Linked DNA regions of Homo sapiens: regions 1, 2, 4, 5 and 6 are each linked to region 3. The links are contacts of gene promoters, found by promoter capture Hi-C in blood cells and fetal thymus (Javierre and others, 2016). All regions are on one chromosome and are shown on one strand. Each heading gives the region's core, a stretch centred on a gene start or on the middle of the fragment in contact. The rest is flanking DNA. Distances are from core to core; before and after follow the strand shown. Region 1 holds the start of BTN3A2 (butyrophilin subfamily 3 member A2). Region 2 has its middle 2.6 kb from the start of TRT-AGT2-1. Region 3 holds the start of H4C12 (H4 clustered histone 12). Region 4 holds the start of BTN2A1 (butyrophilin subfamily 2 member A1). Region 5 holds the start of TRS-AGA2-1 (tRNA-Ser (anticodon AGA) 2-1). Region 6 overlaps LOC285819 (a long non-coding RNA gene).

Region 1 (4,850 bases), core at 1,672-4,171, 1.5 Mb after region 3:
CTTTTTTCTTCTTCTTCTTCAGAATTTCTCAGAATAGATGCCTTGAGTTGGCCAGAACAGATTTTAAGGGTTTTTTGTTTGTTTGTTTGTTTGCCCTTTTCTGACCACAATACGTTAAGAACATGCAGTTGGAATATTTCTTCATTCATGTTGTCTCCCTTTCCTTCCACTAAATCCCAACCTCTGCAGTTCCTTATACTTTGCAGTACTTCTCCCGTCTTCCCACGTGCCCATATGTGCATGTGCGAGTGTGCACATGTACACATGTACACACACACACACACACACACACACACACACACACACACACAGGCACTGCACCCCTTTCTCTGGGAGAGTACTCTCCCTGCATGCCCACTCACCACTCTCAGCGATTCAGCCCCGCTCCTCCCATGCGTTGTAGCCCAGGCTCTAATCAATTTCCTGCACTTACCCCTTGGTATTCCCATTGGAGAATCAGAGCCCACAGAATAAAGACGGTCAATCAATAATTCTCCATTCTTTCTATTATGGCTTAGCCTCTCATCCGGAAGAAAGGAAAAAGAGAAAGCAAATATTGTCTTCTCACCATGAGAAACAGTAAGAGTCGCTCTTTGGAAGAATTAGTTTTTTGATTGGCTCAGAGGTGATGTTTCTCATCAGTTGCTGGGCAGAAACCACTGAGGAACGTTGAAATGAAAACTGAAAGTACATTGAATTGTACACGTTGAGGAAAAACTCCAGCCCTACCTCCCTTAGTGTTTGTGTTTCTGTGTTTATCTATTTGAATCATTCTTGTGCGTGGATGTATATAAGTATTTCTTTATATTCACCTGTCTCGTGTCTTTTACATGGTAATAGAAATATTAGCAGAATGGAGTAGGAAAGTAAAAAAATTTAATGTGCAAAGAGAGGAAGATGTGCACTAATTAAGATGCTTCTGTGGCAGTTTGCTTGCATGTAGATAGGTACGTAGAAGAGGAGGATCTTTTTTACAGAGCCTAATAAAGGTATGAATGGAAAGAAAATGAGACAAACTGCACCTCTTTAAGAACTTCTGGCATTTAGGCTTAGGATATGGTATCAAATAATATAATTTTTCTGATTTCCAGAGGCAGTGCTGCTTGACATTGTTTTACCTTTCCCAGGAAATTCTTACTGCAGATCTTTCTGAGCATCTTCATTCACCCTCAGCTCCTGGTTTGTGCTATATTGTATTTTCTTGGGTATTTGTTTCTCACGCTGCCAGTGGAGTACATATTCTCTGAAGCTAGACACTCCATAGGCTGTGGTCTCTGTAAGGCTCGTTTCCTGTACACCATCTCTGTAAGGAGTTTATGGGACAATCTTGTTCTCCCTGTGGCTTACGACCTCAAAACACACTTTTTTGGGCTGCAAGCCAGAAATCTCCTAGAGCTAATATGTGACTGGAGCTGATGGGATTTGATTATATTGCAACAGTTTGAATTTAGGCTGTGTGGTATCTGCTTGAGATGGCTGGTTGCTTCTGCAGCGTGCATGCCCCCTTCTTCTTAGTGACAAGGCCTAATTTTCTGGGGTACTGCATCCTGCTCTTCCCCCTTGAAGATAGGGCAGGCCAAGGGACTAAGTTGGAGCCAGCGGTTTGTAGGTGAAAGTTGTGGGCTTGTACTTCTCCCAGAAATCCTTCAAAGGGAGGCCAAAATAGCTGGGAGTGTGAGGGTACACTCTCCCTTCTTCCTTCTTCCTCTTGCCTAGAACATGGACTTTGGACCCGGAGGTGCAGTAGCCCACCCTGGGACCATGAGGCAGCCTTGAGGTTGGAAGCCACACACTGGGACAGCAGAGAATGAAGTCAGAAGCAGGCTGGGGCATGAATGACATATCTGAGGTGCCAGATCAGCCCTGGACTGTCACCATCTAAATTTATTTAAAAAATTTTTTCTTTTAAAATATTTTATTATATATTAGTACTCAGGGTAAATTTCCAAATAAGTTTGTTTTTCATGAAAGGAAAACAAATCCTTGTTTTATTTAAGCCAGTGGTACTTCTGGTCTCTGTTATCAACAGAAAAACACAATTTTTCCCTCCCCCTTCCCCCTCCCCAACAGTTTATTATAAAACTTCTAAAACATATAGCAAAGGTGAAAGAATTTCAGTAAATTCCAATATATCTACCATGTAGATTGTATAATTAATATTTTAGTTTCTTACTTTATTATAAATCCATCCTGCTGTTCACCCCTATTCATCCATCAATATTTGTTTATTTGTTCATTTGTTTATTTTTAAATTCAGACTCTATCAGAAGCTGTGCTGCTTGAGATCGTATTAGTAAGAATGAACATCCCACCTTTGCCTGGAGGGTCCAAGTCACTTTGACACAAAGAAGCAGCCAATGTGCTAAGCTTCAGATTAGGAGTTTCTGAGCCCAACTCTTCATATCTCTGAACTTTGTAGTTTCCAAACTATGAGACCCCTAAGTTCATTTCTCACTCAATGTCTTTGTTTCTTCAGCTATGGGTAGGGATGTGACCTGCTTCTTAAGTTGTTTGGGGAGAACCTAGCACAGCACCTGCACATATTAACTCTTTATGAATGTCATTATTTTCCATTATGAAAGGTTCGGTATCAGCTGGTGCCTGTTGTGGAGTTGGAGTTTTAGTTTGAAGGTGAAGAGAAAATCTTTTTTAAAAATGGCATGAGAAAATGTGTACATTGGAAACAATAGTGTGAAAGGTGCCAGGGAAGATGGGAAGTAAGAGTGCCATTTACATTGTATTCTGTGGAATGATGACGCTATGATTACACAATATAGCCAGTCCTCATTAGAGAATCAGATGGTAGAAGACAAGGAGACCAGGAAGAAAGCTACTGTGACACTCCAGGCAAGAAATGATGAGGCCTTAGGGATGGAGGAGAGGGAAGAGGATTGATTATTATTCTTAATAATAGCTTATACTCACATAGAACCTACCGTGATGTTGGTATTGTGCTTAGAGGTTTACATGCATGAATAATACTTTTGCTTTGTGAAGTTCTGAGCAGAGAAGCCCACTAAGCTCTGCCTGGACTTCTGACCCACAGAAACTGAAGTGATAAAAGTGTACTGTTATTTATTTATTTATTTTTGAGGCAGAGTCTCGCTGTGTTGCCCAGGCTGGAGTGCAGTGGCACAATCTTGGCTCACTGCAACCTCCACTTCCTGGGTTCTAGCAATTCTTGTGCCTCAGCCTACCAAGTAGCGGGGATTATAGGTGTGTGCCACCACGCTGGGCTAATTTTTTATCTTTTATTTTTTGCGTTTTCAGTAGAGATGGGGTTTCATCATGTTGCCCAGGCTGGAAAAGTGTACTGTTTTAAACCACTAAGTTTGTGGTAATTTGTTATGCAGCAATAAATCACGAATGCATTAGGTAAGTGAAACACACAGTGGCAACAAACATGAATATAAAGAAGACAAAGAGAATAACTTGTGTTTCCAGCCCTGACCCGTTGCCTGGACTGCAAGCTTATTATTGACCTGCCTACTCTACATCTCCACGGGAATCTCTAGTAAGCTCCTCAAACCCAACATATTCAAAACTGACCTTTGGATTCTGTGCTGGCTCCTCCTCTGGCCTCCACAAGCGGTTTCTCCCTCATTTTCCCCATCTCAGTAAGTGGCAACTCCATCTGTACCGTTTCTTAGGACCAAAACCTTGTGGTCACCCTTGATGCCCTCCTTTTTCACACCCCACCTGTAAGTTTATCAGCAAAGCCTTTTTATTCTATCTTGAAAATAAATCCAGCATCATAACATTTTCATGGCTCCTCCCTGGTACAAGTCATCTGCATCTTTCCCCTGGATCACTGCAGTAGCTCCCAGCTGGGTCTTCAGGCCTCCATCCACCACCCCTACCCACAGCCCATCTTGGTCTAGCATGTGAAGTAACTTCTTAAAACATAAGTCAGTCCAGTCCTTTTTCTGCTCTAACCTTCCAGTGGCTCCCCTCTCAGAGGTAAAGCCCAGGTCAGCATGATGACTTTCAAGGCCATACATGATCTGGCCCTCAACCCCCTCTGGCCTTGTCACCTCCTCTTCTCCTGATCACCCTGTGTGCTCTGCGCACCCCAGCCTCATTGCTTTTCTTCACACAAACCACAGTGCTTCTGCCTCTGTGCTCTGGCACTGCTGTTCTCTCAACTCGGAATGCTTTTCTCCCAAGTATTCTGTGCCTCGCTCCCCTTGCTCATAACCACCCTATTTTAAACTGTAACTTCCAACCGGGAACGAGGGCTTACAGGTGTAATCACAGGACCTTGAAAGATCGAGGGAGGAGAATTGCATGAGGCCAGGAGTTCAAGAACCTGGGCAGTATGCATAGCAAGATCTCTGTCTTTCAAAAAAAAAAAAAATTAGGCTGCAGTGAGCTATGATCACTCCAATGTACTCTAGCCTGAACAACAGAGCAAGACCCCTTCAAAAAGAAATGCAAGTTCTGCTATTCCAGGTTTATTTCTCTCCTGAGCACTTATCATCATCCAGCACACCATATATATTACTAATTATTTCATTTCCTGTCTGCCTCCTACCACAAGTTATGTTGTTTTTGAATGAGAACTTTCTGTTTTGTTCACTTCTGTGACTCCACCACCTAGAATAGTGACTGGCACATAGTTAGCGTTCATGGATCCTTGTCAAATGAATGAATTAATGAATTGACCAAATAGAGAAGCCTGAGGGAAGCTGGGGTGGGGGCTCCCCGATGTGGGTGCAGAATTAGCCTGAGACAGGAGAAAGAACACCTGCTTGTTGAAATCAGAGGAAACAGATCATGAGGGACAGGTATAGGTGGTGGAGCAGGAAGTTTGGGACCTCCCTTTTCTATTTTCTCTCTGAGGTGGTAGA
Region 2 (4,352 bases), core at 167-2,666, 1.3 Mb after region 3:
TCAATCTTTGGAATGATTCATAATCTGTTGTTGAGAAGGCTGTAGCATCTCTGAAAATTCACAGCAAACAGTAAGATCTGGCCACATAAAACAAGCTGTGATTCGCTATTTAAAAAGATTGCATTGTACTCAGAGTTTTTTGGAAAGGAACAAATCAAAGCAAAAACAAATATTTGTCACCAAGACTTGAGAAAAGAAGCTGTCAGAGAAGCCTCCATTTGCTTATGGGGCCCACTAGAACAGGCTGACTTGAAGAAGTCCAGGAAGGGTTGAGATGCCTTCTCCCAAACTCTCCAAGAGGAAGAAAGAGAAATTGAGAAGTAGGAAAGAAGTCAGTTTTACTCTTAGCAGAAGTTCTCCACATAGAAACACAAGACCAAGGAAATGGAAGTTCACTGTAACTATTACCAACCCTCTCACCCATCTCCCAAGACCCAGCCCACAGCTCACCTGGCACAGAAAGTTCCACTTCTCTGGCTTTTGCTTTCAGAGCATATTATTTTATGTAGATTGTCAAGGCTTGCAATATGATTTCCTGTTCTAGCTCTGGAGACAAAATCCCAACACTTGGAGGAACAGCTCAGAAGCAACTCTACTTTTATGGAGACTTTCTACTCCCATTCCGCAGCTTAATTCCCCACTTTTCTTTTTTGTTGTTGTTTTTTTTTTTTTTTTTGAGACGGAGCCTCGCTCTGTCACCCAGACTGGAGTGCAGTGGTGTGATCTTGGCTCACTGCAACCTCTGCTTCCAGGGTTCAAGCAATTCTCCTGCCTCAGCCTCCCGAGTAGTTGGGATTACAGGCGCCCACTATTATGCCCGGCTAATTTTTGTATTTTTAGTAGAGACGGGGTTTCACCATGCTGGTCAGGCTAGTCTTGAACTCCTGACCTCAGGTGATCTGCCCACCTCGGCCTCCCAAAGTGCTGGGATTACAGGTGTGAACCACCGCCCCCGGCCAATTCCCCACTTTTCTTTATAAACATCAAGCACCAATGGAAAGGCAGACCCTTCTTTTTTTTCACTAGAGCCTTCTATCTTCTGTTCTTTTTCCCTAGGCCCAGATACAAACTTCCCTCAAATGATAAGACAGGCTGGGTCACTGGTGCAGATGTCAACACTAAATCACTAATTCATCCCCTTACCAATCCTGCCTCATTTCCACTCTCCTGCTCCATCAGCTCCAGAAATACCTTTATAGGAGGCTTGTGGCCAAGTGGCCCTCAACAGATTGCATGGTCTGTACACTGAGTTGGCAGTAGTGGTACTGGCTACTGAAGCTATTGAATATTCCAGGTGATGAGTCTCACTATCTTTCCCAAAAGCCTATGTCTTCCTAGTTCTCCATATATGGATACATCATGGAAACAATTTATGTGTAAAAGTGGAAATGGTTTGCAATCAGATGCTTGTTTGTCTAGTGAGTGGCTATTTGTCAATGGCCAATTACTATGTGGCAGTTACCATGCTAATCACACATGGGTGAAGAGGCTGATGGGAAGGGAGAACAATTTAATGGCAGTTATAGTATAGTGGGATGTAATACTATTGGGAGTACAGGGTGCTTTGAGCCACACTTGCCTATTTATTTATTTATTTATTTAGAGATGGAGTCTCGCTCTGTTGCCCAGGCCGGAGTGCAATGGCGCAATCTTGGCTCACTGCTACCTCTGCCTCCTGGGTTCAACGATTCTCCTGCCTCAGCCTCCCGAGTAGCTGGGACTACGGGCACCCACCACCACGCCCGGCTACTTTTTGTATTTTTAGTAGAGACGGGCTTCACCATGTTGGCCAGGCTTGTCTCGAATTCCTGACCTCAAGTGATCCACCTGCCTCGGCCTCCCGAAGTGCTGGGATTACAGGTGTGAGCCACCACGCTCGGCCCCACATTTGCTTATTTATTTATTTTTTTTAGGGACAGAGTCTGGCTCAGTTGCCCAGGCTGGGGTGCAATAGCACAATCCTAACTCACTGCAGTCTTGAACTCCTGGGCTCAAGCAATCCTGCTGCTTCAGCCTCCTTGAGTAGCTAGGCCTACCAGTGTGTGCCACTATGGGTCTGCCACCACGTCCAGGTGATTTTTGTTTTGTTTGTAGAGATAGGGTTTCATAATATTGTCCAGGCTGTTCTCCAACTCCTGGGCTCCAGACATACTCTGGCCTAGGTCTTCCAAAGTGTTGGGATTACAGGCATGGGTCACTGCGCTGGCCTGCAGCCTCATTTGAAAACAAACCTGTCTGTGTGGGGCTGGGTGCAGTGGGGATCACCTCTGTAATCTCAGCACTTTGGGATGCTAAGGTAGGAGGATCACTTGAAGCCAGGAGCTGAAGACCAGCTTGGGCAACATAGTCCATAGTGAGACCACATCTCTACATAAAATAAATTAGCCTGGCATAATGGTGTGTACCTGTAGCCGTAGCTACTCGGGAGGCTGAGGCGGAAGGATCTCTTGAGCTCAGGAGGTTGAGGCTGAAAAAAACAAAACAAAACAGAAAAACAGACAAACAAAAACCCTGATTGGGCGAAGGTGGAAGGAAGACTTTATGGAAGAAGTGATACCCACACTGAGCCATGAGGGAGACACAGAACTTGTCAAGGAAAGAGGATAGACGTGGGAGGAGTAGAATAGATGCCCTGGGCAAAGGGAACAGTGTGTAACTAAAGGTGAGGAAGAGAATGCTCAGTTCAGATAAGTGGAAAGCAGTTAGGTGAGGGTATGTGCAAGTCTTAAAACTGTTTTTTGTCTGGAGATAGGCGGAGAACATTTGACTTGGCAGTTGATAAGTGTCAGGTGTTTCATGCTTTCTTTTAAAAAGACAATGCCTTACCAAAGCAGTTTGGATAGCATTTGAATTTACAAGTTGTGGATTAAGTAGGGCCTCTAGCTCAGCTGCTGAGGTTCTCCTATGGGCAGGTGGAGCTAGAAGGGACTGTGTTTCCCATTGCATTCTAAGTAGCGATGCTCATCTACTTGCTTCATATCTGTCTGAGCTAGCCTGTTTACTTCTCAAGGCAAGGGCTGTGCCTGTCCTCTTCACTGCTGTATCTCCAGAGACCAGCACAGGGCCTGGCCAACAGCAGTGTGATGATTAATATTATGTGTCAATTAGAGTGGTTCATTAGATACTCAGATTACACATTGTTTCTGGCTGGGCTTGGTGGCTCATGCCCGTACTCCCAGCACTTTGGGAGGCCGAGGTAGGAGGATCGCTTGAGCCCAGGAGTTTGAGACCAGCCTGGCCAACATAGTGAGGCCCTCATGTCGCTACAAAAAAAAAAAAATTAAAAATTAGCCAGGTGTGGTGGTACGCACCTGTAGTCCCAGCTACTCATGAGACTGAGGTGGGAGGAATGCTTGAGCCCAGAAGATCGAGGCTGCAGCGAGCCCTGGTTGTGCCACTGCACTCTAGCCTAGGTGACAGAGCGAGACCTTATCTCAGGGTGCTTCTGGATGAGATTATCATCTGAATCAGGGACTCAGTAAAGCAAATTGCCCTCCCGGGTATGATCCCTCCCATTTGTTAAGGGCCTTAATAGAACAAAGGTTGAGGAAGGAGGAATTCACCTCTTCTCCCCCTACCCCACTGATTTACATCTCATTTTTTTTCCTCTTGCTCTTGGACTGGGATTTACTTCGTTGACTCCCGGGGCTTTCAGGCCTGATTGAGACCCAAACTGAATTACACTACCTGTTTTTCTGGGGCTCCAGCTAGCAGATGGCAGATTGTGGGACTTCTCAGCCTCCTCCATAATTGTGTGAACCAATTCCTTATCATAAATTACTGTCTCTCTCTCCATAGACAGGCATAGATAGATAGATACATACACACATACATACATAGTTAATAGATAGATAGACTATTAGTTCGGTATTTCTGAAGGACCCTAATACAAGCAGGTACTCAACTATGAAAAAAAAAATACAATGTATCAGGCATTTGTTGTTTGCCAGACACTCTTCTAAGCTTTTTACATATTCCAAGTCATGTAATCCTTACTGCATAGTTATGAGGAAAGGTACAGTTATTTCCTCCATTTTAAAGAGAAGGGCACTGAGGCACAAGGATGCAAAGTCACTTTCCTGGAAGGTAAGTAGCTGGCAAGTGGCAACGTCCAGAGATGGGCCTAGGCAGCCTGAATTGAATTCGACTAATCTGCTGGCCTTCCAAGCACCTTTAAGTGTTTTTTCTGCTACCCTAGGGGGTACACCTATTTGCCATTTCCTCCTTTCTCTTATGTTGCCACCTCTGAAGGAGGGATTCAAAGCCACGTTTGATCAGAATGTCAGGGTAGGCAGAAATGGAGTGAATATGTGGAGTGAATACTTGGGCAATAAGGGGGACCTTTGTTCTTT
Region 3 (4,765 bases), core at 405-2,904:
TATAATTTTCATTGATGTTAAAATAATTTCAGAGTGGCCGAGCGCAGTGGCTCAAGCCTGTAATCCCAGCACATTGGGAGGCCGAGGCATATGGATCACGAGGTCGGGAGTTGGAGACTAGCCTGGCCAACATGGTGAAACCCCGTCTCTACTAAAGATACAAAAAAATTAGCCGGGCGTGGTGGTGAGTGCCTGTAATCCCAGCTACTCAGGGGAGGCTGAGGTGGGAGAATCGCTTGAACCCGGGAGGTGGAGGTTGCAGTGAGCCAAGATTGGGCCATTGCACTCCAGCCTGAGCGAAAGGGCGAGACTCCGTCTCCACAAAAAAAAAAAAAAAAAAAAAAATTCAGAGTATAACCCTGTATTTATTAATAAGAAAGAAAATCAAATATACGGAATCAAAGTTGCTCCATAATGGTTGATAACAAATCTTTAGTTGGGTCATATAAAAGTGTCTTTTTAAAAACCTACAAGCGTCCAAGCGAAGCGGCTCACGCCTGTAATCCCAGCACTTTGGGAGGCTGAGGCGGGCGGATCACGATGTCAAGAGATCAAGAGCATCCTGTCCAACATGGTGAAACTTGTTCTTTACTAAAAATACAAAAAATTAGCTGGGCGTGGTGGCGCATGCCTGTAGTCCGCGCTAATCCGGAGGTTGAGGCATGAGAATCGCTTGAACCCGGGAGGTGGAGGTTGCAGTGAGCCGAGATTGCACCACTGCCCTCCGGCCTGACGACAGAGCGAGACTCCTTCCAAAAAAAAAAAAAAACCCCACACACAAAACCTACAAACACCAATTTTCTAGTTATAAGAGCTTGTTTTAAGGATTTTAATTCTATTCCAATTAAGTCCTAAAGCTAATGCAATTATCAAAATCTCGAAGAGATTTTATTCAAACTTCACAAAAGGTCTCTAAAGTTGTCCAGAAACCTTGGTGAAACAGATTAGGAAATTTGGAAAGGAAATAATGCGGAGACCCGTAGTACCAAATCATGAGACCTCTAATACAATTTTAAATATTAATGTAATAAAATTTAAATTTTGGTGTAATAAAATCATAAATTTCAATATTGGTCCCAAGTATAGAGAAAAAGTACATTTATGTTGAATGTGGAAAACATTATTTTTAAAATACAGCCGATTAAAAAATTGCTGGGGAACTGATTATAACTATTGATAATTCCTAAGAAACATAGACACCAAAACATCACTTTTATCTCTTTAATAGAAATTGGTTAAATTATAATCAATATAAGGAGGTTACAAAACTCCATATACAACACTGTATACATTTTCTTGGAAAAATATGTGCAACTGCTCTGCAAAATACATGATTAACTAGCCTGTGTGATGGGATAACATTGTAGTTTCTTAATTTCTTGTCCTTTCTTGTATTTCCCACAGTATTGATGTATATCTTCTGCGTTCAAAAGCAATTTTTTAAAGCCTCATAACGTGGTAACAAAATACTATGCACGTTACAAAATTCAGAACACGGAAACAAGAAGCTCGCTTTTTTTTTCCCCCTATTTCGGTTTGGCCCTTTAGATTTCCCCTCCCCCACCGGGGCGGGACTTCCCGCCGACTTCTTTCAGGTTCTCAGTTCGGTCCGCCAACTGTCGTATAAAGGCGCTGCCTCAGGCCAGAGTCCTCACAAAGCGTTGGGTGAGACTCCTCTTGCTCGTCATGTCTGGCCGCGGCAAAGGCGGGAAGGGTCTTGGCAAAGGCGGCGCTAAGCGCCACCGTAAAGTACTGCGCGACAATATCCAGGGCATCACCAAGCCGGCCATCCGGCGCCTTGCTCGCCGCGGCGGCGTGAAGCGCATCTCCGGCCTCATCTACGAGGAGACTCGCGGGGTGCTGAAGGTGTTCCTGGAGAACGTGATCCGGGACGCCGTGACCTATACAGAGCACGCCAAGCGCAAGACGGTCACCGCCATGGATGTGGTCTACGCGCTCAAGCGCCAGGGCCGCACCCTCTACGGTTTCGGTGGTTGAGCGTCCCTTTCTATCAACAAAAGGCCCTTTTTAGGGCCCCCACTTTCTCAGCTGAGGAGCCGTGATGCTTGTTTGCCCAGTTTCTCTTTACCATTTGTTCGCGCCTGCTGAGTTTGTGCTGCTATCGGAGCATGCGTCTCTAGTCGCTGTAAGTAGGCATCAGTCACTAATCGCTCTCCAGTAAATAAAATACCCAACACAACTTGTTTCAGGTGCTCCAGAGCTTACTGACATGGGCCGTCGCGCAGACTGTAGTGCAGTGTCATCATGGCTCACTGTAGCCTCCCGATTAGCCGGAACCTCGCGCCCACCACCACGCAAGGCTAATTATTTTTCCAAAGACCGGGTCTCCGTGTGTTTCCCAGGCTAGTTTCGATATCCTGGCCTCAATCCCCTCGCCTATGCCTAATGTTGGTATTACAGTAGTGAGCCACCACGCCTGGCCACGATACTGTTGAGGTTTTAGGGTTAGTTACATTTAAGGGGCAATTTTCGCAGTGTAGTGGGGAGGAAAGTCAAGCAGTTATAGGTTTCTGGCGCTGTGAATCCAACTGCTGAACATAGCAAGAACTTATTATGCAACAACCTTTAATCAGTGGACCGTAAATAAGTTTAGTTTATCGGTTTTGGCCCAATTCTTGAGAAAGGTGAGAATTTGAATCCTTGAGTAGAAATACGTAGCTTATCAGTACAACAAAGTGATCACAACAAAGACTAACTTATCCTTTGTTACTTAACGTGGGCAGAGCTTTACCGCTGAGAATTCCTCAGCCTTTGAGTGTTCTCTTATTTACAACTGAAGTTGATAAGATGGTATTAAAAGTGAGATTCCTAGTAAGTAAACTTAAAGGCCTGAAGGACCAGTGATTAATGGGAAGTGCTAATAAGTCATATTTGAGGTTATCCAACCCGAGATTCTGATTTAATTGGTTTAAGGATACTATCACCTTGTGGGTTAGATTTGAAAAATAATAATTGCTTTAAGGAAGGAACCTGTTGGTATTTAAACAAAAAACTTTCCTTCCTGATTCTTACATGCCGTCACTTAGACAAATCTCTGGTCTACATGGCTGGATCTCTTTCTGCTAGTTAAATTCTGTGCTACCCTGTGAAAAAGAACTGAGATTAATAAAACGGTAGTGAGAACACAGGGAAAGATAAAAATCATAGCAAGCCCATCCAGTCATGCTGTAGTCATCCTCACAAGGATAGGGAAGGATCTTGTCCTTCATTTATCACCCAAAGTGTGAGTACAAACTTTAAAAACATATGATACTATAGGAATAATGAAGATGTCTCCATTTGCAAAAATTGTGTGAAAAAATGCACTTGACACAGGTATTTCCTATGATTTCATAATAGACAAAGGTTTAATTACACAACTCCTGGCTGAATCTAGAGTACTAAAATGTGGCTGTTAGAAAAGGTTGCTCTCTGGGCCCGATGCAGTAGCTCATGCCTGTAATCCCAGCACTTTGGGAGGCCAAGGCTGGCAGACAGCTTTAGGCCAGGAGTTGGAGACCATTCTGGCCTATGTGTTGAAACCCCGTCTCTACTAGGAATACAAAAAATTAGCCGGGCGTGGTGGCACACACCTGTAATCCCAGTTACTTGAGAGGCTGAGGCTGAGAATCGCTTAAACCTGGGACACAGAGGTTCCAGTAAGCCGAGATCACACCTCTGCCCTCCAGCCTGGGTGACAGAGTGTCGCCAAACAAAACAAAACAAAACAAAAAAAAAGATTGCTCTTACCCAGGGATGATGGTCAGATGCAATTACAGGTTATGAATTTGGCATAAAAGTAATGCTAAGTGTTTCACACTGCACTTACTGTTGTCAGTGTTCTAAGTGTTTTTTATTTACCAATTCATTTACACTTGTTTGTCTTTTTTTTCAGGTCTCCAACTCCTGGGCTCAAGCTGTCCTCCCACTTCTGCCTCCCCAAAAGCTGAGATTACAGGCGTGAGCCACCCGGCCCTACTCATTTAATCCTTACAACAACCCTTAGAGCTGGGAACTATTTTTATCATCATCACATAATTGTTTACAAAAATAAATCGAGGCTTAGAGAGCATATGCACCTCAACCCAAGATCCCACAAGTAGAATATTATTGTTACAGATTTGGTTGCAAATAATCTGCTTCTTATGATTGTGCTTTAAATTTTTCACCGTGTCACATCACTTTGGTGGTGTAAAATTATAAAACAACATTTAAGTCTTAACTTTAAAAATGTGTTTTTGGCCTGGTGCGATGGCTCATGCCCATAATCCTAGCACTTGGGGAGGATGAGGCAGTCAGATTGCTTAAGGCCAGGACTTTGAGACCAGCCTGGACAACATGGTGAGGCAATTTCTCTACTAAAAATACTCAAAAATTAGCTGGGCCTGGTGGCCTGCGTATATAATCTCAGCTACTTGGGAGGCTGAGGCACGAAAACCCAGGAGGCAGAGGTTGCAGTGAGCCGAGATCCTGCCACTGCTCTCCAGCCTGGGTGACAGACTAAGGCTCTGTCTCAAAAAAAAAATATATATATATATATACATATATATATATATTTATATGTATAGACATACATAGTTAAAATATATATATTATTTTTTACATCTTAAAGAGAAACATTATTTATATGCAAAAAATTTTATTTAGGCCCACTTAGCAATTCCAGATCTGACAACTTTTGAGGATTTAAAATTGTTTTTCGCCCTCTCCCTCTCCCTCTCCCCATGGTCTCCCTCTCCCTCTCTTTCCACGGTCTCCCTCTCAT
Region 4 (4,347 bases), core at 300-2,799, 1.4 Mb after region 3:
GGGCCCCACGACAATAAACTGGGCTGTTCAACAAAGGGGTAGAGTCAGACAAAGACACCAGCCATCACATCTCTAAGGCAAGAAAGGAAGCAGATATTCTAGGGACAAACTTATTTTTTCCATGGCCATAGGGTCTCTTTGGGCTGAGAAATCTGGGGACCAGTAGCTGTGGCTAGTCGACAGCACCCCTGGGAGCAGTAACTATAAAGTGTGCTTCTGCTTCATGAAGGAAACCCTGAGGAACCTGCCCTGAGCACCCTCTGTCCACCCTGTGCCCTTGAGGGGATTTTCCTCGATTTCCCAATCTAGTGCTGTGCCTGAGTGTACTGTAAACTTGAGCCGTGCAATAGGACACATATCCACTAGCTAGTTCCAACTGAAATGAGCTGTAAGTGTAAAATACACACAGGATTATGAAGATTTAAAATTTCAAAATGTTGACTATCTCATTGGTAATATGGTATATTAACTAAGTATTTAAATATTCGTATTTGATTATTTGGGGCGAAACAAAATATAGTATACAAATTTATTTCATGTTTCTTTTTACTTTTTAAAATAAAAAGTAAAATTTAATTTTTTTTGAAAATTTGCAATTGTACATGCACTCGGCCTTTGTGCCTCACTGTATTCCTTTTGGACAGTGCTGGTATAAATTCAATGAACATGTTCAGAATGAAAGGGTAAGTCAACAACTCCACAGTCCTTCTTTCTTTCCCTTTGCAGACTACAGGGTTGATGTTCCTTTCTGATAGGTGACAGCAGCAAGTGGCACACATCCCTACCTGAGACCAGTGCACACAGGCTGAGGAGGAGGAGGAGGAGGGAGGCTGGCCGGGAGAAGTGCAGGGCAGCAGCTGATTCCATGAGCACCCAGAGCAGGCAGGGACAGGAGGCCTAGGGTTACAGAGGAGAATCAGCCTAGGAGTCTTGGCACCTCAGTGCTGGTCGGGCCCAACCTCTCCCGTCACTCAAGTAGGTCTCATCAGTGCCCCAACTTCAGGGAGTCCCCTGCATCCGAAGGCTCAGGTATGTCCCGAGAGAGGGATTCCTTAAACATTCCATGAAGTAAGCCATCAATGCCAAGATCAAGGGGGCCTTTTTCCGCCCTCCTCGGCTCACTTCTCTGGCCAGAATGCAGTTTCTTCAGTTGTCGCTGGATTCTACCACACCCTCCTCCCTTCACTTCCTCCTCCCCGCGACCCAGGCCGGGCAGCCTGAGGCAAAGACAGGCGAGGCCGCGCCTCCCCACCGGTGGGCTTTCCCTGTCCCAGGACCCCGTCTCGTGTCCACAGCAGACCCCGCTTCCCCCACCTACTGTGCCCACCCCGGAGCTGTAGCGCCTCCCCTCCGTTTCCTACCTTCTAGAATTAAACGTTGCTTTTTCTTTTCTCCGCTGGTTCTCGACGATTCTCCAGTCGTCCCTCTTCTCTCCAATCTGCCCAGGGGCACAGGCACTACTAGACACAAACCTTCCCAAAAGAGGAGAAAAAATTGTTCTTCCCCTTCTCCTAGGTCGCCATGTTTGGAGATGCAGGAAACGAAATCTGGTCTCCTGGGCTTCCACAGTCCCAAGAGTTCCCTAAGTATTTTAGAGCCCAGGATTGGCCGGGTGTGAGTGAACCAGCCAATGGTGTCGAACCTTATTTCTCAGCAGTTGCTGGGTAGAATACACCGAATCACAAATTTCAAGCAGCAAATAACCTTTTGAGATTATCGGGTCTTTTTATTTCCTTTTTCTTTGTTCGAAAGCAAGACTCTCTCTCTCTCTCTTTCTCTCTCAAGACTCTCTCTCTCTCTCTCGCTTTGAGATTCCTTGGGGAGATTCCCTGGGGTTTGTCACTGAGGTCGGTGGCTTTGCTGGTGTCCACAAGGAGAGGCCTCTCTATGTAGAGGGCAATTTTGCTGGGGAGGAAACATGAGCAGGAAAACGTAAGCCGCCCCCTTTCCAAAGCCAGAGGACTCCTGTTCAAGTTGCTGGCTTTGGAGGTTGGGCCTGGAGCGCAGGAGGGCTTGGGGGAAGCTGGCATGGCTGGAGCGGGAGGGGTAGCAAAGGAAAGGAGACAGCAGTTGCAGTGGCTGTTATGAAGGCCTTGCCATTCATTCCAAAGCTATCGGATAAGAGGTGCTGAGAATCCTGACTGAGGATCAAAAACCTTTTCCCTCAGGGAGGTGGCATTCTGGTGGTGGCAGAAGATGGAATTGAGCAAAACTTTCTAGTTGTCCTTCACCTTCTAGATAGTAGGTGGTCAGGTTGGGTCCAAGAGCCACACACAGACACACACACTAGCACACATACCATCCTCCCGTAAACATCATCCCTCTCCCAAAGGCTCCAATCTTGTAATTGTAAAGATATCTTCCAGAATAATCTTCCCGAGGCCCAGTTGTCAATATTCCCCTCAAGTGTCTAAATGCTTAGTCTGGAGGCCTCCAATTCCCTTCTGATTCAATTCAAAACTTTGCAGTTAATACGCTAGCAATGGCTCCACAGTGGCCTTGCATCACAACGTTGCACTCCCTGTGGCCAGTGCTCCTTTTCCCATGCCATGGCTTTCATTTCAATTGCTTGCTCCATCTCTGCCCCGTGAAATCCTGCCCAGCCTTCGTGCCTACTTCCTCCAAGAACAACTCTGAATGTTCCTGCCTGAAGTGTTCTCGGCCTCTTCTGACACCCAAATCTTTTGCTGTTCCCACGTCCTGTCTTGTATTATTGTTACTCAGGTATCCACTGTGTCTCTGCTGTGACAGGAGTACCTGCTTCTCAGGACAGACTTCTGCAGGATGTGATTCCTCTCACCTTACAGGGCCCAGCTCTAAGCTCTAAGCTCTGCTCTTAGCTGTTGTTCAATGCATGAGTGACATGCTCAGGGTAAGGTCATTCCCACCACATCATGGCCCAGTTCCTGGAGTCATTTGGCACCAGAGTGCGAGAGAGAGGTGCTAGCAGGATTAAGCCACTCTAGGTCAGGATTTCTAGGACTGGAAAGGAGGAACCAGTAGGTTCCTTCTGCAGAGAAAGCTCTTTGATGAGAATAAGCTAAAGAAAGCTCTGAGAACTCTTTTTTCCATTGGACTGACCCTTAAACTGTCTCTTTCTCATACAGTAGTCTCACACGTCACCTGATGTTTCTGGATTATAATTCAAATAAGATTCTGGGTTGAGTGGCTTATGAGGGTAAATACATCAGTATTAGAACTGTATGTATATGAATTCCAAACAGGACTGGGCAGCTGTTGAGAAGAGGCAGAAGAGAAGGATGAAAGGGTCTAACAGCATGGCCAGCCAGGATGAGATCTGACTTTATATTTTTTTACCTGAAGAAATAAGGCCCAGGGCTTTGAAGTAGCCCTTTTGCCAGAAGCATCCAGCTAAGCCAGGCTTCAGCCTCTGCCAAAGTTGATCTGAGCTAGAGGGAAACGTGTGTGTTCTGAGAAGGAAGAGGATCAGTTGACGATGGGGTAGCTTAGAAAGAAATCAGGCTCTACTGGGGTGTGCCCGGTTAGATAGTAACAACCTAACCCAATCATGCTCTGTAGTGGGAGGGATAGAGACAGGAAGGGTCACGTTGGCAAGGTTCTTTATGGACCTGCCAACCCTGGAAGAACCAGGATACAGGGTAAGCATTGATTTCCTTTTGCTTTACAATAAACTACAGTCTGTGAAGGTAATATAGCTGTGTCATCTCCAGCTATGGAGTACTCCCAGGGGAGGCCTAGACATGTTGACATACAGAAAATCCATTCCTACTCTGCCCTGTTCAAATTCTAGATTCCTGACTCACAGAATCACTGAACATATTATAATAGTTGCATAAGCTTCTGAATATTAGGACTACAAGCAATATTAACGAGTACATTTATCTTGCCTCAAAAGAACACATTTTTTCAAAAAGAAGAAATGATACTGGGCTTCTAAAAGAACCAAACGTGAGAAATTTGCCTAAACTCTTTCCATCTTGTAGCCTTCTCTCTGCTCATCTGCTTTGGTCTTCTCTGCAATCCACCATTGTTTAGTCCACACCATGAATGGAGCATTTCTTCCCACAGCTCCCATGCACATCTGCTACAGGAGTAACTAGCCACATGTCACTTGGTCCTCTGGCCTAGCCTGGGTCAGGTGTCCATCCCAGACCCAGTCCATGTGGTGAGGCTGCAGGGCCATGTGATGTGGGCATGTATTGGAAGAGAAGAGGTCACTAATGCTAAATGTGGTACAGCGAGGGCAGAGAGACCTTGAAAGGCATTCACTATATTCTCAGAGGCAGAGCCCTTATAACAGACGCTGTTGATGCCCCATCCCATATTCTCTTGGCCTATCACAGTTTGCCAATAGCTGAGGCACAG
Region 5 (4,623 bases), core at 1,290-3,789, 1.5 Mb after region 3:
CACTATTCCAAGTTCTGAATCATTTATTCCTCGCAATTCTACGAAGTAAATACTTGCTATTACTCTTACTTTACAAATGAGACAAATTGGGGTTTGTCTGCAAGTTGGGGTTTGCAGAGGTTAACTAACTTGCCCAAAGTCATGCAGCTAGTAAATGGTAGAGCAAAGATAAAACTCTAAACCGCCGTTCTGCATAATTACAAACACTAATATTTACAGCAAACTTCAAAAGTTATTTCAGCTATTCCTTCCGAGTTTTATTAGTAGGACATGAACTCACCTAGTATTATTAAATCCCTAGTAAAATGAGAGGTACCATATGTGACATATAGTAACATGTCCAGATTTGAGCAGGCTGTAGGTGACACTTTTTTTCCTGTTCTTATTTTTCTGTTTACTCAAACTAATACAGATGCATAAGGAGACATGTTTAAAGTAGGATGAAATCTACAGACTGTGCAAAGCTTTTGAACTTTTGGAGAAATGTTTAGACAACTGACGAAATGCTTGGGGTTGAATTAATGAAAAGTGTCTAGAAGCTTAAGCAGTAAAACAACAAGAAAAGACAGTTATGTACTAATGCCGGGGAAAAATAAAAATTGCAAGGAAAGGAAAACTTAACAATGTATTTCTTTGCCCACTTGTTGAATTATGTTTATAAAGTTGTCATATTTTAAGCTACAAATATTAAAGTATCATGTATTGTGCTATAACCATATGAGAAGACTTAGAAAGGGAGCATGTGTGTGTCGGGGGTCCTGGGGTGTGAAGAAGAAAGTGAACCAGTTACTCCTCTTATATAAAGTCAACAGAAGGTCCATACAAACATATTATTTAGAGATATGTAGGTAAATAATTTTAAAATAAGCTATTTAAATGTTTAAAAAGTAGGCTTAACCACTCAGCCACGACTATAGGTGCCAAAAGTTTTCTTAAACGTCGTACATGTTATTATATGTCACATATTGTACCTCTCGCTTTACCAGGAATTTAATAGCTGAGTTCACGTCCTGCCAACAAAACTTAGAAGGAATCAACAAACTTCAAGTTCAGGCGCATATGTGGTAAGCTGAGAATGTTCTTTGGGTGTTTTCTATAATGCAAATCAGGAATATGTTTCAATAACTTTAAAAATTGCTAGAGGACAGGGAGCAGAGAAGAGACTTGATTTTTGTTTCAAGTGATTCTTGAAATTATGAGTATGCGAAAAGGATAGAAAAGAAACCAAAATTGTTTGCTATCTAGAAATTTTCTGTTTGTGAATTCTCAATCGTAACTCTCACAGAATGACACAAGGTTTTCCCAAACGGACGTGGTGGCTCACGCCTGTAATCTAGCACTTTGGGAGGGCGAGGCGGGCTGATCACTTGAGATCAGGAGTTCCAGACCAGCCTGGCCAACATGGCGAAACCTCCTCTCTATTAAAAATACAAAAATAATTAGCTGGGTGTCGTGGCACATGCCTGTAATCCCAGCTACTCTGGAGGCTGAGGCTAGGAGAATCGCTTGAACTCAGGAAGCAGAGGTTGCGGTGAGCTGAGATCGCGCCACTGCTCTGCAGCCTGGGCGACACAGTGATACATCTCAAAAAAAGAAAAAAAAATTCCCCTGTATTAAGTTTTATCAAGCAATGTGAAAATTGGTCAGTTCTGAAACTTATCAATTTAGTGATGTGATTTAAAAAAAAAAAACTCTTATGTATGTAAAACAATAGTGAACTGAAGCTGGAGTCTATATTATAAAAATTTTTGTCATCTTGTGTAATTCTTTTAAAAATTAAAATGATAAAATACATAAAATGTATATGAGTGCCCAGGGAAGGGGCATTTATGTAAACCTCAAAGTTTCCACTAAAGTCGAACGAGCCAGCCAGGAGTCGAACCTGGAATCTTCTGATCCGTAGTCAGACGCGTTATCCATTGCGCCACTGGCCCTCTGACGAACGAAGACAGGCGTTATACCTATAGAAAAAAACGTTTTGGGATTACCGCGTCCTCCTATACATGAATATATGAAATTTTATTTCTTTCTGATCATAAGGATTTTGAACCCAAAACCCTCCAATTAAAACAAAATATAGTTTTATTTGTTCCTTTGACTTGTTTTACTCATGAAGTATGATTCCTTCGTGGGTAATGAGAAATCCATCCTTGTGCACAATGATTCCTTCCTGAACAATGAAATATCCATTATGATGTAACTTGTAAAAGATCAGAGATAAGGTTTACTTTGGGCAATGAGAAATCCATTTTGAGGACCTCTGAGACATAAATTGAAATTGTCCTGCCCTGAATCCCCAAGAAATCCATTTTGATGTTAACTTGTAAAAGATCGAAAGCCTTTTTACACGTGAAATATCGATCGGTCGGATGAAACCTGCTTGAAGATGCAAAAACCCACTGCCGTAGTCGGCAGGATTCGAACCTGCGCGGGGAGACCCCAATGGATTTCTAGTCCATCGCCTTAACCACTCGGCCACGACTACAGATACCAAAAACCTTATTAAATGTCTTACATGTTTCCATACATCACATATTGTACTCCTTTTATTAGGGATTTAATAATAGCTGAATTCGTATCTTAAGAATAAAACTTGGAAGCAATCAACAAACTTCAAATTCAGGCACATACATGATACGCTAAGAATGTTCTTTGGGTCTTTTTTATAATGCAAATCAGGAATATGTTTCAACAACTTTTACAATTCTCATATTTTTGCCTAGTAAGAAAATTATCCTCAGGCCGGGCGCGGTGGCTCACGCCTGTAATCCCAGCACTTTGGAAGGCCAAGGCGGGTAGATCATGAGGTCAGGAGTTTGAAACTGCCCAACATGGCGAAACCCCGTCTGTACTAAAAATACAAAAAAATTAGCCAAGGTGGTGGTGCACGCCTGTAATCTCAGCTACTCGGGAGACTGAGGCAGGAGAATCGCTTGAACCCAGGAGGCGGAGTTTACAGTGAGCCGAGATCGCGCCATTGCACTCCAGCCAGGGCGACAGAGCAAGACTCCGTCTCGGGGGTAAAAAAAAAATAAAAAATAGATTAAAAAAATAAAAAGAAAGAAAATTATCCTCAGTAAATAACACTGATGTTCCACAGAGATCCCCTATATTTTCTGACAAAGTCCAGTGCCTGCGATATACTAACGGCTCAACAAATGTCAGTACAATTGTAACTATCATTGTAAAACCCCAGAATCTAGATTCATCAAAAGGTTCTTCAGTGAAGATAGGCTTCTGTCTTTTCATAAAACTCAGAATATTTTAACCAGCTGAAAGAACATTTCTGAAAGAAACTAGAAAGTAAAAAATATTTTTGCTGGTCAAATCCTCTTTCGTTTATGGGGCCTTCTCTCACAAGGGGAAGAACAACTGCATCTGATATTCTGTGAATAGTTTGAAATTATATTCAAAGACCACTTCCAAAGGAAGAGCAGAACCCCAGGTTCTAAAACTGCACTACCATTACCACAATACTATGCGTGTGTGTGTGTGTGAGTATTAGTGAGCAAGTCAGGGATTCTGTATTTCATCAATGGCCCAACTCTATGAACAGAAGAAGGGTAAGGAATGATTGATGAACTACTGCTCATGTGCGGATGGATTGAAAATCGTCTCTACTCCAGATCTCTCTCCTCTGGGCTCCAGAATATACAGTTGTCCTATTTTTTTTTCTTGCATGTCCATGGGCATCTCAAAAGCAATGCAACCCCAAAGGAATGTTCCATCATTTTCCTCAAACTTAAATTTCCTCCAACAATCCAAATTTTTGATGAGATACCAAAACCGAAGACTGGCTACCAAGACCGAAGACTACCCTTGTCCTTTTATGTCTCTCTGATTCCCTTCCCAGCAGGCCCTCAATTCAACCTTCTAATTAGCTCTCAAATCTGGCTCTTCTTCCCCAGCCCTCAGACCACCTTTTTTTTTTGTTTTTTTTTGACGGAGCCTCGCTCTGTCATCCAGGCTGGAGTGCAGTGGCACGATCTTGGCTCACTGCAACCTCCGCCTCCCGGGTTCAAGCAATTCTCTTGCCTCAGCCTCCCTAGTAGCTGGGATTACAGGTGCGCGTGCCACCATGCCCAGCTACTCAGACCACTTTTTAAAATGAGGTACTTAGTTTAGGTACTTAGAAGTACTCATGAGAAACTTCTCATTAAGTTATTGCAACAACTTCTTAGTCTTTTGGCCTCCAGTTCCTGATCCCTTAAATAATATATTCATTTATTCATTCTTCCAAAAATTTTATTTTTTTAGAATAAAAATAAGCACTTTGTATATGGGTAGTGAGACAGAGAATTGCCTATTTTTTTCAAATTCTTTTTATGTGAAATAGCAAAAGCCAAGCACTTTGCTAGGTACTGCTCATTCAATGGAGAGCGAGATTTCTAAAGGATTACAGAAGTTAACAATAAAACAACTGAGTGCAAGTGAGAAGTGCAGCCCTAACACAGTAAGTAGCCCACAGAAAGAGTTCTGGATCTCAACCACAAAGGTTTTAGGTGGTTGCCTGGAGGGTCACTTAGACTCCAAGCTTCACGAAGAAAGGTTCTAGTTTTACCTTCTTTACCTCTGAGTCCTCCATAGGTGCTTAATTAAGTATTTTTGGAATGAATTATACTT
Region 6 (4,417 bases), core at 1,394-3,893, 1.4 Mb after region 3:
GGATACCTCAGAGGTTAAATCTCAGCACCCAGAGCAGTGCCCAGCCACTAACCTGCACAAGATCGAGCCAGTTTCCATTCTATAATAAAACAGAAACAAGAGTCATTGCCAGGTTAAAGAGAAAATCAGCTGGGTACGGTGGCTCACACCTGTAATCCCAGCACTTTGGGAGGCCAATGCAGGAAGATCACTTGAGCCAACTAAGGAGTTCGAGCGAGACTCCATCTCTACAAACAATTTAAAATAATAAAGAGACAGAGAGAGAAAGAAAAAAAAATCTTGTGTAATTTAAAGTAAAAGACAAAACTAAACTTCCTCCTTTGTATAGTGGTGTGAAGAAGAAGAAGAGGAAGAAGAAAAAGAGGAAGAAGAAGAAGGAGGAAAATAAAAAGACAAAACTAACATAAAAATTTCAGGAGCTTCTTTGTAAAATGAATAGAAATTCTTCAATAGGCCTCTGGGGCTGAGATGTGAGGAGGAGGAGGAAGAAAATGAGAGTGGGAAGGACGCACTGGAGGACTGTTACTATCTGAATCCTATCGCCTACAAAACATCAACTGATCAATCAGGCACAAGAAAGTGTTCTGCTTCTTTCTGTCACCTTAGAAATAACCTGGACGTCAAACATCGGTGAAAAGAAGAGAAAAAAAGGAAAATGAAATAACCTGGAAGCTCCTGATGATTTGAGATCAGATCTTTACATACTAAGAGATGGTTGCTATATCTGGGGGCCTTGAGTGAAAGGCAGCAGTGGGAGCCCAGCACCCATTTCCAGACAACTCCACAGCCCAGAGCCCAAACTCAGCAGTTATGAGTTGAATTTATTTTGTCAAACAAAAAGAGTCAAACTCTGTAAAATATTGCAAGAGATTTATTCTCAGCCAGATATGAGTGCCCAGTGGCTTGTGACACAGCCCCGAGATCCTGTGAACATGTGCCGAAGTGGTTGGGCTCCAGCTTCTTTTTATACTTTATATTTATTGAGATGTTTTAACTCTGCAGGCCAGAGAGAGAGACCTATCTGAAACCAGCTTGGGCAGCTGGAGAAGAATGAGGGTGAGCAGACATCTGGGCAAGCCGGAGTTTGGGAAAACTGCCATCTTCGACCTTTCTGGAGCAGCAAGATACTGGTGTGAGTCTGTCAGGAGCTTCAGCCTAGCTGATGAATAGACAGGAGAGAGCGATGGGCTCTACAGACCCGCTCAGCAGTTCTTTCCAACTTGGAGTGCTCTGGTCATTTGCATCTGAATCCTGCTGTGTCTTCTCTCCAGTGGAGATTTTCAAACCAGGCTGCCATCAGCACCCACTCACCACCCTAAGTTTGGTAAATGATATATAAAGCTTCAAACTGGCCCTACAACTCAAAAGGAGACATAGGAGAAGGGAGGCGTTCATGGGTTGCATATAAATGAGCACAGTTTGAAATCACTACACTAAAAAAAAATCTTTCAACTATAATAATATGTTATTTACTTTCAGCAATGAGTCAGTCAGGAATTTAGCCCAGGAAATCAACAGAAAAATAGACTCCTCCCTCCCCTGAGATGCTGCCTGCACTGGATTCATGTAAATTTAAATATAAATTTAGATTGATGTTCTTTCACCATCCTCCCCCATTATCCTTCTCTCACTTCAATCATAAATGCTCTTCTGTTTGCATCATAAATTTTTCCCCTCAATCCAGTACATTTTTCTTTTTTCCTTGTATTTATTTTATTTTATTTTAATTTTTTAGAGATGAAGTCTCACTATGTTTCCCAGTCTGATCTTGAACTTTTGGGCTCAAGTGATCCTCCCAACTCAGCCTCTCAAAGTGCTGAAATTACAGGCGTGAGCCACTATGCCCTGCTGATCCTGTACATTTTTTGAGTTCATTGTACCAATAGTTCCTCCATTAGCTTGGTTAAACATTCACAAAACAAAACAAAATGCCCCCAAATGTGACAGCTGAGTCCTTGTAGGAAAAAATCCTTAAGTGAAGCTTAGTATCCTGGGGTTCATTGCATATTCATATATACATACTTGGGGACCCATGCACTAAAAAGACAGACTCCTTTTGTTTACAATAATTCAGCCTTTGCTGTTAAGGTGATTAAGGCAAGTAGGTGTGGGTGGAGAGATAGTGACAAAGGAAGTGAACTAGAGGAATAAAGATCAAAAGATGGGAGGAGGTCACTAGGTCACAGTTAAGCAAGGGCAAGCAGGCAGGAACCAGCCCTGTTGCACTGGTGTACTTGGTCACCTGGGCAGGGTGTTGACGGGCTGTTGTGGGGATGTTGGGGACATCTAGAAAATATGGAGTTGAAAATTTACAATATACATATGAATCTTTAAGGCACATCTCTTTTTAGAACCTTTTGGAATATGTTCCTAAACATAACCAGGAGATATTTTAGGAGTCTTTTCGTCTCCTGGCTGGGGGCAGTGGCTCATGCCTGTAATCACAGCACTTTGGGAGGCCAAGGTGGGTGGATCACTTGAGGTCAGGAGTTCAGTACCAGCCTGGCCGGCCAGCCTGGCCAACATGGTGAAACCCCGTCTCTATTAAAAATACAAAAAATTTGCCAGGTGTGGTGGCGTATGCCTGTATTCCCAGCTACTCCGGAGGCTGAGGCCAGAGAATTGCTTGGCTGGGAAGGTGGATGCTGCAGTGAGCCGAGATTGTGTCACTGCACTCCAGCCTGGGCAACAGTGAGACTCTGACAAAAAAAAAAAAAAGGAGTCTTTGCTCCTTTCTGACTGTAATTAGTTCCTAAGAACATGCAGTTGGAAGGTTTCTCTATTCAGGTTGTCCCTCTTCAGCCAAATCTCAGCCTCTTCAGGTCCTTACTCTTTGCATTCTACCCTCTCCATCCTCACCCCTTTCTCTGTGCCAGTTCCCCTCTCAGCTTTTCAGTCCCTTTTCTTCCAGGCCTTGTAGCCCTGGCTCTAAGCAATTTTCCCCACTTACTCCTTAATATTCCTATCTGAAAATCATAGCCCACAAAAAAAGGTAATCAATAGTTTTCTGTTGTTAATAAAAACTTTAGACAAATTAAATTTAGCAGGGTTTAATTTGAACAAAGAACAATTTGCAAACCATCAGAACGATCGGGCAGCCATCAGAGAGGTTCAGTGAGCTCCATTCCACAAGGGAAGTGACACACAGAAACAGCTTAATTGGTTACAGCTCAGAGTTGGCCTTATTTGAACATAGTCTGATCACTTGGCTGCAGGGTTGACTGCCGCCGACTGAAGTTCGGCTACTGGGATTGGCTGAGACTCAGCTATTTGTTACAAAAGTATACTCCCATGCCTTAAGCTTTCAGTTAGTTTACATACTAAGTTAGGTTGCAGTTCATTATTTAAGGGCTCAAGAGCCATCCCTCAGGCTAAATGTATACATATCTCATACCAAATTTAGTTTAATTTAACACAATTATTTCTGCTTTAGTTAAGATTCTCTGATCCAGAATAAAGGAAAAGAAAGCATGTGCTGTACACTCGGTCCGAGAAACACTAAGAGAATCCTCTTTGTAGGAATTCGTGTTTTGATTGGCTCAGAGGTACCATTTCTCATCAGTTGCTGGGCAGAAGCCACTGGGGACGGTTAGAATGAAAACTGAAACGATATTGAATTGTACACATTGACGAAAAGTTTCAGCCCTACCTCTCAAAGTGTTTGCAGCTCTCTGTGTTTACATATTTGAATCATTAATGTGTGTGTTACGTGTACAATCAGTGTTTCTTCACATTCAGCTGTCTTTTATATCATAACAGAAATATCAGGAGAACTGAGTGGAAAAATGAAAAGATTTTAAGAAGAGAAGATAGGTATTAATTAAAATGATACTGTGGCAGTTTGCAGACATCCCCTTGCATGTAATTGTTACATGGAGGATATTATCATCTTTTGTTTTGGATATTATCATCTTTTACCACAGAGCCAAATGAAAGTATGAACATAATGAAAACTAGATCTATTGCATCTATTTTAGTACCTCCAAAATTCAGGTCTCAGATCCATTACCGAATTATAGAATTTTCTGGTATCCAGAGTTAGTGCTGTCTATAACTGCATATTTTATATTTTTCACAAAATTATTTTGGGTGTGACTGAAGCTTTCTTCACCTCTTGCTCCTTATTTGTGCCATACTGTATTTTCATGTGTATTTGTTTCTCACTCTGACAATGAAATATGTTCTAAGGTTAACCTTTGGGTAGACTGTGGGGGATGTCTTTGTAAGGGGTCCTTGCTACAAACCTTGGGACCTAGTGATAGCAGACAGGAGGCAGTCAGATGCCTAGGCAGGTAGCAATGGGTCCCCAGTGATACCCCACCTCCAAGCTGAAGACAGTTTAAAGCCTGAAAGCCAAACTACAAGGTAAATCCTCAGCCCAAATTGAGAACTTGTTGAGAACTTGTCTTCCTGTTTG

Evidence for each region. The method cuts DNA at HindIII sites, captures the fragments that hold promoters and counts their contacts. A CHiCAGO score of 5 or more calls a contact.
Region 1: a contact is called between a fragment that was not itself captured here and the fragment with the promoter of H4C12 in region 3, in 2 of 17 cell types (fetal thymus and activated CD4 T cells). The highest score is 5.9, in fetal thymus.
Region 2: a contact is called between a fragment that was not itself captured here and the fragment with the promoter of H4C12 in region 3, in 4 of 17 cell types (monocytes, M1 macrophages, naive CD8 T cells and 1 more). The highest score is 8.2, in monocytes.
Region 4: the fragment with the promoter of BTN2A1 here is called in contact with the fragment with the promoter of H4C12 in region 3 in 4 of 17 cell types (neutrophils, naive B cells, monocytes and 1 more); the score reaches 6.7 in neutrophils.
Region 5: a fragment that was not itself captured here is called in contact with the fragment with the promoter of H4C12 in region 3 in 6 of 17 cell types (monocytes, non-activated CD4 T cells, activated CD4 T cells and 3 more); the score reaches 9.5 in monocytes.
Region 6: a fragment that was not itself captured here is called in contact with the fragment with the promoter of H4C12 in region 3 in 8 of 17 cell types (fetal thymus, activated CD4 T cells, total CD4 T cells and 5 more); the score reaches 8.6 in fetal thymus.

What each region holds. Positions count from the first base shown.
Region 1 is chr6:26,360,936-26,365,785 of GRCh38, reverse strand. It overlaps BTN3A2 (butyrophilin subfamily 3 member A2), which reads right to left and starts at 588. Exons shown (of 11, transcript NM_007047.5): 1 at 434-588. RefSeq lists enhancers at 581-630, 4,711-4,760. The HindIII fragment of the contact is 1,103 bases long and covers 2,370-3,472 here.
Region 2 is chr6:26,528,194-26,532,545 of GRCh38, reverse strand. No RefSeq gene overlaps it. Among named protein-coding and RNA genes, the nearest start is that of TRT-AGT2-1, 2.6 kb to the left of the region's middle. The HindIII fragment of the contact is 5,099 bases long and covers 1-3,965 here.
Region 3 is chr6:27,828,449-27,833,213 of GRCh38, reverse strand. H4C12 (H4 clustered histone 12) reads left to right here and starts at 1,654. Exons shown (of 1, transcript NM_003541.3): 1 at 1,654-2,040. The coding sequence starts at 1,687. The coding sequence ends at 1,998. RefSeq lists enhancers at 1,345-2,170, 2,094-2,203, 4,474-4,765. The HindIII fragment of the contact is 8,845 bases long and covers 1-4,765 here.
Region 4 is chr6:26,455,157-26,459,503 of GRCh38, reverse strand. BTN2A1 (butyrophilin subfamily 2 member A1) reads right to left here and starts at 1,549. Exons shown (of 8, transcript NM_007049.5): 1 at 1,362-1,549; 2 at 786-897; 3 at 1-23. The coding sequence starts at 867. RefSeq lists enhancers at 1,359-1,518, 1,679-1,938. The HindIII fragment of the contact is 11,033 bases long and covers 1-3,821 here.
Region 5 is chr6:26,325,451-26,330,073 of GRCh38, reverse strand. TRS-AGA2-1 (tRNA-Ser (anticodon AGA) 2-1) reads right to left here and starts at 2,485; the gene lies at 2,404-2,485. It overlaps TRR-ACG1-1 (tRNA-Arg (anticodon ACG) 1-1), which reads right to left and starts at 1,934; the gene lies at 1,862-1,934. It overlaps LOC101928743 (a long non-coding RNA gene), which reads left to right. Exons shown (of 3, transcript XR_241992.5): 2 at 987-1,064. The HindIII fragment of the contact is 3,995 bases long and covers 542-4,536 here.
Region 6 is chr6:26,473,059-26,477,475 of GRCh38, reverse strand. LOC285819 (a long non-coding RNA gene) reads left to right here. Exons shown (of 4, transcript NR_038992.1): 3 at 1-1,324. It also overlaps a transcript of BTN2A1 not described here. Among named protein-coding and RNA genes, the nearest start is that of BTN2A1, 17 kb to the right of the region's middle. RefSeq lists enhancers at 1-535, 3,592-3,641. The HindIII fragment of the contact is 1,320 bases long and covers 1,984-3,303 here.